Regions from separate parts of the Homo sapiens genome. Here regions 1, 3 and 4 are each linked to region 2. The links are contacts of gene promoters, found by promoter capture Hi-C in blood cells and fetal thymus (Javierre and others, 2016). All regions are on one chromosome and are shown on one strand. Each heading gives the region's core, a stretch centred on a gene start or on the middle of the fragment in contact. The rest is flanking DNA. Distances are from core to core; before and after follow the strand shown. Region 1 has its middle 57 kb from the start of OR4C13. Region 2 holds the start of OR4C5 (olfactory receptor family 4 subfamily C member 5). Region 3 has its middle 20 kb from the start of OR4C13. Region 4 has its middle 37 kb from the start of OR4C13.

What was found. The method cuts DNA at HindIII sites, captures the fragments that hold promoters and counts their contacts. A CHiCAGO score of 5 or more calls a contact.
Region 1: a contact is called between a fragment that was not itself captured here and the fragment with the promoter of OR4C5 in region 2, in 8 of 17 cell types (endothelial precursors, erythroblasts, M0 macrophages and 5 more). The highest score is 11.1, in endothelial precursors.
Region 3: a fragment that was not itself captured here is called in contact with the fragment with the promoter of OR4C5 in region 2 in 7 of 17 cell types (M1 macrophages, monocytes, erythroblasts and 4 more); the score reaches 8.7 in M1 macrophages.
Region 4: a contact is called between a fragment that was not itself captured here and the fragment with the promoter of OR4C5 in region 2, in 5 of 17 cell types (M0 macrophages, M2 macrophages, erythroblasts and 2 more). The highest score is 10.0, in M0 macrophages.

What each region holds. Positions count from the first base shown.
Region 1 is chr11:49,894,198-49,897,288 of GRCh38, forward strand. It overlaps the pseudogene ANKRD33BP5. Among named protein-coding and RNA genes, the nearest start is that of OR4C13, 57 kb to the right of the region's middle. The HindIII fragment of the contact is 2,126 bases long and covers 660-2,785 here.
Region 2 is chr11:48,365,215-48,368,021 of GRCh38, forward strand. OR4C5 (olfactory receptor family 4 subfamily C member 5) reads right to left here and starts at 1,251. Exons shown (of 1, transcript NM_001348223.2): 1 at 271-1,251. The coding sequence starts at 1,251. The coding sequence ends at 271. The HindIII fragment of the contact is 2,303 bases long and covers 1-2,265 here.
Region 3 is chr11:49,930,699-49,933,623 of GRCh38, forward strand. No RefSeq gene overlaps it. Among named protein-coding and RNA genes, the nearest start is that of OR4C13, 20 kb to the right of the region's middle. The HindIII fragment of the contact is 1,925 bases long and covers 464-2,388 here.
Region 4 is chr11:49,913,625-49,916,411 of GRCh38, forward strand. It overlaps the pseudogene OR4A49P. Among named protein-coding and RNA genes, the nearest start is that of OR4C13, 37 kb to the right of the region's middle. The HindIII fragment of the contact is 5,755 bases long and covers 1-2,787 here.

The DNA.
Region 1 (3,091 bases), core at 473-2,972, 1.5 Mb after region 2:
GCAGAATGAATAATTCTGGAGAACTAAGTTACAGCATAGAGTCTATACTTGGTAATACCATATTGTATACTTGAAGTTTGCTGAGAAAATGCATCTTAAATATTCTCACCACACACAAAAGGTAATTATGTGAGATGCTGAACGTGTTGATTGTGGTAATCATTTCACAATGTATATATTTACCAAAATATCACACTGTACAACTTAAATATATATTATAGATTTTTGTCACATACACCTCAATAAAGCTATAGAAAATAAAAAACAATGTTTTAAAGATGACAACAAAAGGAGTAACCAACCTGCATGGAACAGCAAAAACAGACAAAACTCTGCAAATGCTGCACTGTCTGCAGAAGGTGGTCTGGAAGCACGAGATTGAAGGAAAAGCCTCCCAGAAGGCAGTATTTTGAGCGGTCAGTCTTGTTTTCCGCTGTATGTGGAAGGAATAATAACCATACTTATGGATCTACACTGAAAATGGACACTGGCTAACAGGTTTAATAAGCTAATGAGGAAATTGGAAATTTAAAAATGGAAAAATGATGACAAAGTAGTTGGAAGAACCATATGTGGATGAATCTCTCAAAAGGAACACCAAATACTACAATGTTAGTTTACAACATAAATGCCCAACAAAAAGAATCTACTGCAGAAGAAGCTTCCAGGAATCTCATGAACATGAACTGCATTTTGGATGTCAGTCAGCCTTTTTCTCAGTTACCTTTGTAGTCACTGTTGCAGAGATGAATACTCTACAAAGCCACAAGGTCTAAAATGCCATCAGCAATGTCCATCATTGACTCTTTAACATGGTACAAGTAGCTAGGGAAACCAGCCAACAACCTTGTGACAGCTTACTTCATTCCAACTCCTCAGTCTGGAGAGGACAGCATTTTTTCATCATATATTCTGGTTACATATTTTTCCTAGCACTTGCCTTATTTATTATTCACGGAGTAGAATCTGTTATCCATTGCCATGGTATCTCATTCATTATCTATCCAGAAGAAAATTTTTAGTAAATAAATTTAAAACATATAACTCATCACAATAGAATTTACTGGTATAACCACAATTGTCATCATCTAGAAGCTGAACAAATGAGACATTGGAATGGCCTCCTAAAAGATGAGTTACGGTGCCAGCTGGACAATCCTAACCTGAGAATGTGAAATGCTCATTTCCACATGTTTGACACACAATATGTGCTCAGTAAGTTTTAGTCATCACATACCTATGCCACATATATTCTGAGAAATTAACCCAATGCTAATAAACATTCCCCCATGCAGCCATCTATTTTGCCTTTTTTGTTCCGATATCCACAAGATGCCTTTACATACGTTCCTCCAATTCTTGTCAGTGCATATTTGATATTCACAATTTGTTAGTCAAATGAAATATTTCCTTGTAGAACAAGGCAATATTTATCACTTGCACTCCAGTGACACCTAAATATTGATCTAGTTGCAAAAAGGGAATTTTCTGGGAAAGGACATGAGGCCTTTGGTGAGGTGGCTTTCTGCAACTTCTACAGATATTGAAAGGGCTAATATCTGAAAGTTGTCTGTGAACAGCGTGCCCAGCAACTGGAAATATATATCCTTCTTTCCTAAAGGAAGGGCAAGGAAGTACATCCTTTTATCTATCACAGCCTACCTATTATGTCACTTGAATCCATTTCTTCATATACACTTGAGAACAGCTTCTTTAAGATTCTCTTCCTGGGGGAAAATTAAAAGAGAAAGGTTAAGGGACAAATATTGTCTCTTGCCACCATGGCTGATCATAGAGTTGCAACTGCTATGTACCATCTTATTCCTTTATTGTCAATTCTATTTCTCCCACTTCACCTTTTACTAGCACCGCTACTGGTCTCATGACTTACTTAAAGGTGTAGCTTAGACCTTCATCTCCAAAATATCTCATCCTGGTACACTATAATCATTCAGAACCTGATTCTTTTCTATTCTCACTTATTATCACAATTAGAAAGGGCATGGCAAGATGTGCCCCTGTCAGTCACCTGGAAGACAAAAATATCATTGCTTACCACCACTGTGTTATAACACCTCCATTCCACATCATAATCAGGTCAATTACCTTGGCTAACGTTGAAAAAAGAACCTTCTCTCAATGGCTACAGATAGCAATTCTTCTTGTGATAGGAGAGCCAGATGAAATCCAATATGTGACACACAGGATACAGTGCAGTGAGCAAAGAAAAACACTCTTTCATTAAATAATTTCATCCTCTTACCATGAAGCTGGACATAAGATTGAATTTTACACTTATGTTAGCCAATAAGTAAATATCCTTATATTTCAAGATAGTTTGAATTGAGTTTTCTATCATATGTAACAAAAACATCTTAAATGAAACATCCTCAATTTAAATATATATAGGAAACTGAAGTAATGTGTAAGTCCTATTATTTATTTACATATGTATATATTTGAAACAGTACTGCCTTTTTATCAATATAACGTTTTAATCTGTCTTATCTAGAATAGCACATTATTCTTTCAAAATTTAATTGCAATATCCATATCTTTATACTTCCAGATAAACATTTAGAATCAAAGAAATATCATGAATAGCTCAGTTTTATGCAGAAAAAAAGGCAAAATAAGTTTATCATTTTTCCCCACAGATATATACTTAGCATACAGCCATAATTTGGTGAAATAAAATTTATACACGAATATAATAAAAATAAATTCATTTTAATTTGATTAATTAATTCATTGATAGCATCATAATAGTTGATTCCCCAGAAGAAGCTTGGAGGACTATGGGAATGACAGTAAATAACACTAGTCTAGTGTAATTGATCTGTCTAGCCAAAATACAGAGTTTGGACTCATCAGGCAAGTTCCTTGGAACAACATCATTCATGACCATCAGAGACATTTTACAAACCTTACCAAATATACCATCTGTATATGGTAACACAAAAGAAATGACAATGACTCCAGGAGATTTATAATGGGAAGTTACTCACACAATGCCATTGGAACCCAATAACCTTAAAGCCCAGTTGTCTACAGAACTGTGGAAGATTAGATGCTTGCAGATGTGTGGTGT
Region 2 (2,807 bases), core at 1-2,500:
ATGGGTTTTCCATACACTGTAACATTTTTATGTTGACTAGCAATGTCCCCCTGATTAATAATTTGTAAATGTGAAGAAGTTTCAAATTGGCAGAAACATTAGTCATCATTTAATCAGATATTGATCTTTTATGAAAAGGCATCATTAAAGATTCCAGAAAATGAGGGGAATAAAATATACTTAAACTCACTATTCTGACCTCAAGACCTTTACCCTTTTCATTAGTCATACCTGTTGTTAAAATATGAGTAGGTTCTGTGTTTATCTTCTCTAATCACACAAATTGTTACCCCAGATTATTTGGCTCCAGAGCTGCTTCATGGCATTTTTCACCTCTGTGTTTCTGAGGGTGTAGATTAAAGGGTTTAACATGGGTGTTACCACAGTATAAAACACAGACACAGCTTTATCAATAGGGAAGGTGATCATGGGTCGAAGGTACACCAATATACAGGGAACAAAGAATAGGACGACTACAGTGATATGGAAGGCGCAGGTAGAGAGAGCCTTCCGCTGTGAGCAGAGGATTAGGACGTAAGAGGTAATAAGAATAGAAAAAATGAGCATACACATCAGCCCACTGTTGGCGGCAACAAAGAGTCCAAAGACGTGAGTGTCAGTGCAGGAGAGTTTTAGCAGAGGGAAAAGGTCACAGATGAAATGGTCAATGACATTGGGGCCACAGAAGGGCAGCCAGACTATTAAAAGCATTTGAATCAGAGCGTGAAGAAATCCCCCGACCCATGCCATGGCCACCAGGAGGCCACATACCTGCCTGTTCATTGTGATCAGGTAGTACAGGGGCTTGCAGATGGCCACATAGCAGTCATAGGCCATCACCACGAGCAGAATGATCTCAACTCCCCCAAAGAAATGTTCTACAAAGAGCTGGGTCATGCACCCACTGAAGGAAATAGTTTTCTTTTCAGTGAGTAAGTCAAATATCATTTTGGGGGCCATGGTAGAAGAGGAGCAGCCATCTATGAAGGAAAAGAAAGACAGAAAAAAATACACGGGGGAGTCCAGGGCTGGGCTGGTGGTGATTGTCACCACAATGATTAGGTTGTCTACCATGGTGAGAAAGTAGATGAGTGTAAACACAGCAAACAAGAGTTTCTGTGCCTCTGCGTTCTGTGTCAGGCCAAGCAAGATGAATTCCGTTATGTTGTTCACTTGCTCGAAATCCAGTTTGGTATTTGGATAATTGATTTTTCTGTGAATAGCACAAGGATTGCAATTTGACACATACATTTTGAACAATAAAATAATTTTGGTCAGGATTATTTTCTGTAACACTGATGGAATCCCTAAATCTATAAACCCAAGACTAAGTTGAGCTATGTTATTCATGACATAATGAACACAGATACCTCTTCTCTCTCATACAGAGACACACACAGACACAGAAAAACACATACACACATTCATTTATGTACACAAACATGATTTTATGATGTTGACATGTCAGGCATTTTTCCTATGATTGTACATGGATGGATATTCTCTCAATCACCCTTACAGCATTTTTTTCCCCATAGAAAAACAGCAGTAAAAAGAGGAGGAGCAGAGGCTTGAATTCCTGTCAATTTCCTAGTTTCTTTTTTTTTTCGTTTTTTTTTTTTTTTTAACCACTCATGTTCATGAGGCTACGGTGCAGAGTTTGTTATTCTGGTTATTTTTAACTTGTTTCAGGGTAACTATAAAACATCAGGTGAGTTCACTTTGAAATTAAGGATGATGCCACCACATTTCAGAATCAACTGAACTGAGTGAATGTTTGAGGCTGCAGTAAGATACTCCATGGCAGTTAGATTTGAGAATTTATGCCACATCCAAACAGAATTGTCTAAGAATACAATCAAACACTTCTGGAAGCATATCCTGGAAGAGGATAAAACAGCATGATGCAAGGCAGCATTCCCCAGATGTATCTGAAACTTTAGAATTCACTTGGAGAACTGTCATGTTTAGAATTCAGGGCATTTTGCAAATCAAAACCCAATTTAAGGATGACTATGAAAAATTATATGGATCTGTTTAGAAAACATAATTTTAAGGTGAGGGAAAAAAAGCACCATAATTTATTGGACAGAGTGTTTTTTAGAATCAGATGCCTAATTTTTACATTTTATCTTCACTGACTATTAGCCACATGATATTGTGTACAGATCTTAGTCTCATTGTGCCTAAACTTTTTCATATATAAAATGGGAAAAATAACAAATGGAATGGAGGAACTAAAGAATATCATGATTAAATATATCAAGCTTTGTATCCTAAAGGTAAACCTATAGCTTACCATGTACTCCACATCTTGATAAAGAACACAAGTAAACAAAATTTTGCATATAATTATTTTTATCTTTAAGTTATTTATCATTGTAATATTAAGAGAGAAAATAAATGAACTCAGTACTCAACTCAAGGTAAATAACAAGCAATTATATTCAGAAAAAAAGGTGTAACACAGAAAGACATCAGGCAATAAAAAATTAGACTTGATAACTAAATTAAAAAGCTTTTTGATATTTTAAAAATACAAAGAAAACTGAAGAATAGAAATGAGCTCAATAAGAAACAAATATGGTAATACCACCAAAGGATATTATTTGTGAATAATATTTAGAAAGGTATTATGTGTAGCTCATAAAAGATTTTAAAATAACTAGATAGGTGTTTTTCAAAACGAAATAAGTCTCTTCTTAATGGAATCATCAAAAAAAGAAAAAAAAGAACCAAAGAAAAAGAGAAAAAAGAATAGCATGTATTAAAGACTTCAGGTAAAACATAGATCTTTTCAAAACCAA
Region 3 (2,925 bases), core at 176-2,675, 1.6 Mb after region 2:
TGACAGGGGCAAATATTATTGAAGACTTTGTACCTTATAAGCACATTAATCATGGAGTTTTGGAATTGGATTCTGTTCAAGACTGATTTTTGCTTAATTAAGTTCACCGGGATTTTCCCCATATTTTTAAAGAACATTTGCATGTAGAGATATTGTCAGATCAATCACATAACTAGGGTCAGAAAGATGTAACAAGGGAAGAAAAAACAACCATTATAGTAGGATTGCCAAAGAAGAATAAAATATCAGCCTAGCCACTTAGAAGATTAATTTATCATATTTTCACCACTTTGCAATAGCAGGCTTTTTTCCTTTTATCTAATTTCCATTTTTTCTGCCTACAAGTGTGGGTTTGGATATGTTTTTAAAATATTTTATTTAGTTGTAATAACTATTTATCTATGCATTTATTATTCTAAAAAATTGTTATGAGTATCCTTTTCATGCCAAGTTCTATGCCATAAGCTTAAGATACAATAGTTAATGAAACAGAAAAAAAAACAACAGCATAAAAGTCCTGCCTACATTAACTTTATATCTTCTAAGAAAGTAAGGAAACAATTTAATAAATTATAATCTATGATCAGTATTTAAAATACTGTGTATTGTTATGAAAAATAAAAGTGAGATATTACTGTAAAGAAGGTAATCAGAGGTCTTTTTAAATGGTGATACTTAGCTGAGGTCCAAAGGAAAAAATATTGCTCCATGGAAAATATTGTTACATGTGGAAAGCTCCAATATTTAAAGAGCTGAGCAAGTGCAAGTCAACAGAAGGTCTTAGTGCCTGAAAGGAAAAGGAAAAGAGAATGGACAGAACAAACTGAGGTTGAAGGGATGGACAGAAGCCAAGCCCTGCAGGGCAGTATAGATCTTGGTAAGGAATTTGTATTTCATTTAAAGTTCTTTTTAAAAGAAAGTAATGGGGACTTATAGTCTAGCATGTAAAGAGCTTAGAAGTCACCACTGTACCCTAACAACAAGTAAAAAGCTGAACAAACTAAAATATCAACAATTCATCTTAAATCCATCACAGAAGTGAGCTCACAGCGCAAACTGCTGCCCTCAAAATTGCAGAGATAGACAGGCAGATAGAGAGAATCACACCTTCCCTGAGCAGAAACCCACAAGCAGAAACCCCACAAGAACCTGTGCCAAGGAGGGTAGATATAGGTAGGAAAAACCTGAACTTAATTGATGAACTTCTTAATGGAGAAGGCTGAAAAATAAAAACTCTAGGGGAATCAGTCAAGGTGGGGCAGGGCAGAGGGTCTCTCACCTTTTGTGAGTTTTAACTTCATGATCCCTACCTGATACTCACAGAAGATGTTAGGAAAAGACCTGTCCACATGTTAAATAAACTTTTTACAAAATATATCCAAACCCACACTAATGGGAAAAAAATCAAGTATTAGATAAAAGGAAAATAATTGCTATGGCAAAGTAGGGAAATAAGTGATAAATTCATCTTCCTGGAGATGGGGAAAAACATTTTTAAATATCCACAGTATTCTGTTCTTCTTAACAAGGCTGGCCCTCAGAAGAACCTATTGTTAGCCACACCCTAACTTGCTGGGGTTTTATTAGAGCCTAACCTACTTGGAGTAAATGAAATACTCAATCATAGCCTTCTCTAAGGGCCTCTTATAAGGGCACTAATCCCATTTATCAGGGCTCCACCCTGATGGCCTCTCAGAGGCTCCACCTCCTAATACCATCACATAGGGAGTTAGAATTTTAATACATGAATTTTGGGTTGACACAAACATTAAGTACATAGCACCTTCCAAAGCAGAAAGCACCAGGTCAGACAGGTTCACTGGTAAATTCTACCAAATATTTAAGGAAGATATTATACCAGTTCTCTAAATTTCTTTTAGAAAATAGAAGAGGAAAGAAGACTTCCTAACTCATTCAATGAAGCCAGCCATACCCTACTCCCAAGAACAAAGACATTACAACAAAAGAAAACTTCAGACTAATATCTCTTATTAATATAGATGCAAAATCCTCAACAAAATATTAGCAGATTAAGTTCAACAATATGTAAAGATAATTGTACACCAGGATCAATGGAGATTTAGTCCAGGTACTTTTGAATGTTGATTCCACCCTGCATACCCGGACTAAATCTCAGTAGATCCTGGTGTACAATTTAGTATGCACGGTGGGATCAACATTCAAAAATCAATTGGCATAATCCATTGCCTCGAATGTTAAAGAGAAAAAATCAAATTACCATATTAATAGATGCAGAAAAAGCATTTGAAAAAATCTAACACCTATTTATGATTCTGAAAAAAAATCTAACACCTATTTATGATTCTAAAAAAAAACTGTAAAGTAAGAATCTACAGCTAGCATCACACTTAATGGTGAGAAACTTGAAGCTTTCCTACTAAGATCGGGAAAACGGCAAGAATGTCTCTTCTCATCACTTCTTGTCAACATTGTTCTGGCAGTCCTAGCTAATGTAATAAGACAAGATAAAGAATAAAAAGTATACTGATAGGAAGAAATAAAACTGTCAATGTCTATAGATGACATGACCATCTATGTAGAAATTTTTTCTAAATCAACAAAAAAATACTGGAACTAATAATTAGAACAGAGTGGTAGGATCAAGGTTAATATACAAAAGTCAATCACTTTTCTATATACCAGCAATGAACAAGTATAATCTAAAATTCAAAACACAATATCATTTATTTAGCAATCCAATAAAATGAAAAACTTAGGTAAAAATCTAACAAAATTGTGTACAAGTGAGAAAAACTACAAAGCTCTAATTAACAAATTAAGGCCGGGCACGGAGGCTCATGCCTGTAGTTCCAGCACTTTGAGAGGCTGAGGCAGGCAGATCAGCTGAGGTCGGGAGTTTGAGATCAGTCTGACCAACATGGAGAAACCCCGTCTCTACTAAGA
Region 4 (2,787 bases), core at 104-2,603, 1.5 Mb after region 2:
AACATATATCACCAAGTCTGACTACCTATGAAAGAATTTAATAAATGTGACTATTTTTCTGAGCATTAAAAAAAAGGAAATAATTAATGGATTAGATTGGCAGATTATTTTACCTGTTTAGGAAAACTAGACTTCAATATTTTCTTATGATCAAGAAAAATAAATTTTCCGTTGGCTGGAAAACAAATGTTTTCGTAATTTTTTTAATGGGGATGACTAGAGGCAGGAGAGAGGGAGGTGGGCAAGGGCTGAAAAACTACCTGCTGGGTACCATGCTCGCTACCTGGGCAGGGGTGCAATCATACTCCAAACCTCAGCATCATCCAACATACCTTTGTAACAAACCTGCACATGTGCCTCCTGATTCTAAAACAAAATCTGAAAAGAAAAGTAAGTAAATAAAATAAGGTGTTAAAATGTATAAAGTCACTAGAGGGAAATGGAATTTACTGAGGTGTCATATGACAGAAAAAATAAGAAGTAAAAAAGTTAAGATAAAACATTTCTGTATAAAAACATCCATAATTGTAGCATCAATAACATAGTAAAGTAAATATTTATAGCAAATATCAAAGAATGGAATGAACATACATACATTTTTGATACAGAAAAACTTTATCAGAATGTATCAGTAAAATTTCTGACTCCAATAGATTAAGAATTCAAGGAAACAAGTAATTAACAAAGTTTATGGAGTAGGCTCTATGTGTCAGACATTGTGCAAGGAACAGAGAGCACAAAGAGAAGTAACTTTCCCTGACTTCAGGGAAATTTCCGACCAATAAACATAAACAGACAATTAACCAAGATTTTTTTTATTACATCACTCAATAGAACCGTACAAATTGGAAAATTAATTACATGTCCAAAAATGCAGGACCTAGTTTTATAAACTACCAAATGCTCAATACTATTTGGAGAATGGTGCTATGTTTTGGAAGAGCTTGGATGATATAAGAAATCTCCATGTAATAATAATAAGGATAAAAATAATAATACAAAGTGAACTCATATAGTGTGATTTACCAGGGAAATTGACTTATGTTTTTCCCTAGCCTTAGTCCCTCATGAATCCGGACTACAGAGGAGAAGCAGGAACAATGAGTTTCTTTGATTACATGTTTTCTACCTGTAGTCAGGGGCAGATAAAATTTTATTTCAAGCCTGATTCAAAAGAAATTTTCACACAGATTTTTATGAATGAAGTGTCTTTCCAATGAAACATATGTTTTAGTCCGTTTTTTACCTAATAATCTGCATTCTATCAATAAAGAAAGAATGGAAGCATCATATATTGCCAGCATCTTTCTTTTTTTTTTCTTTCTTTTTTTTTCTCAGTCTTACTCTGTCACCCACATTAGAGTGCAGTAGCATGATCACGGTTCACTGCAGTCTTGACCTCCTGGGCTCAAAAACTCCTCCAACCTCAGCCTCCTGAGCAGCTGGAACCACAGACATGCACCACCACACCTGTCTATCTTTTGTGACAATGGTGTATTCCAAAATATTTGCTATCAGGCTCTGCATTGCATATTTGAAGTTCATAGATTATGGATTATGCTGATTTTACATATAAAAAGCAGAGCCTGGCTGTTTTTTAGAAGGCCATGAGAAGGGGGTATTGAAAATAGCAGAGGTATTATCAGATATTCTAAACATCTGGGAAGATCAATGGATCATTTTTATATAAATATGGAACCAAAACAAGCTGCTTCACCTGAGGACTAAACAGCATCCATTAATGATAAGTACCCAAGGAAGAAGTACATAGGGGCATCCAAAGTTGGGCTGACCACCACAGTTACAACAATGAGTATGTCACCTACCATTGTCACAAGGTAGATGAGCAAGAACACAACAAATAATATTTTCTGTCTCTGGGGGCTCTGAGTGAGCCCCACAAGGACAAACTCTGTCATATTTTTCTTTTGTTCCGTATGTCTTTTTGTATGTCCTTATTCCAGTGTTCAGGACAAAATTACCTAAAAATATAATTATTACTAGTAACTTCATGAAATTTTAGGATAATTTGTTTATTCATTCAACAAATAGGTGCTATGAGTTATTATGTTCCAGAATTGCAAGACATTATAAGAATATAAGGCTGATTAAAGCATGGTCCCCAACCTCAGCAATCTTACAAATTAATGGAGAGAGAAATAAGTAATTTGGGATGTATATGGGAAAAGGAAGTTTATTAAATAAATGAGTTTGCCAAAACTAGTTTTACATCTGGACGATCATAAAATTATACATATAGCTAATACCATAAACAAAAATAAATACAAATGAATTAAAGATTTAATATAAAACTAAAGCTAGATTTACTTTATATTTACTTTCCAGTTAATAAAGGAGATGACTTTCTACATTCTCTGGATGGGAGAATCTTCTTAACTAATAATTGAAATCCAAAATAAACATATTCGACAATTTCAAAATTGTTTAAGAATTTGGGAAAAGATACCATTTAAAAATATTTACAATTTTGAGGACACAGAGTTAATATTTAAAATAGACAGAGTGCTCTAAGCAATTAATAAATAAAAGACAAACCAATAGCAAACTGGGCAAATGATAGAAACCAGCAATTTAAAAAAACCAGTACATTCAAATGGCCAAATATAATAGGGTGCTGAAGTTCACCTATAAATAGAAAAATACAAAATAAAAAACAAATATCACCTTATATTCATCAAACTGACAAAAACATTCTAAAAGTGATAGTAGCTATAGCTAGCAAAAATAAAAAGGGTATTTTCTTACACTGATAGTGAAAATATGAAT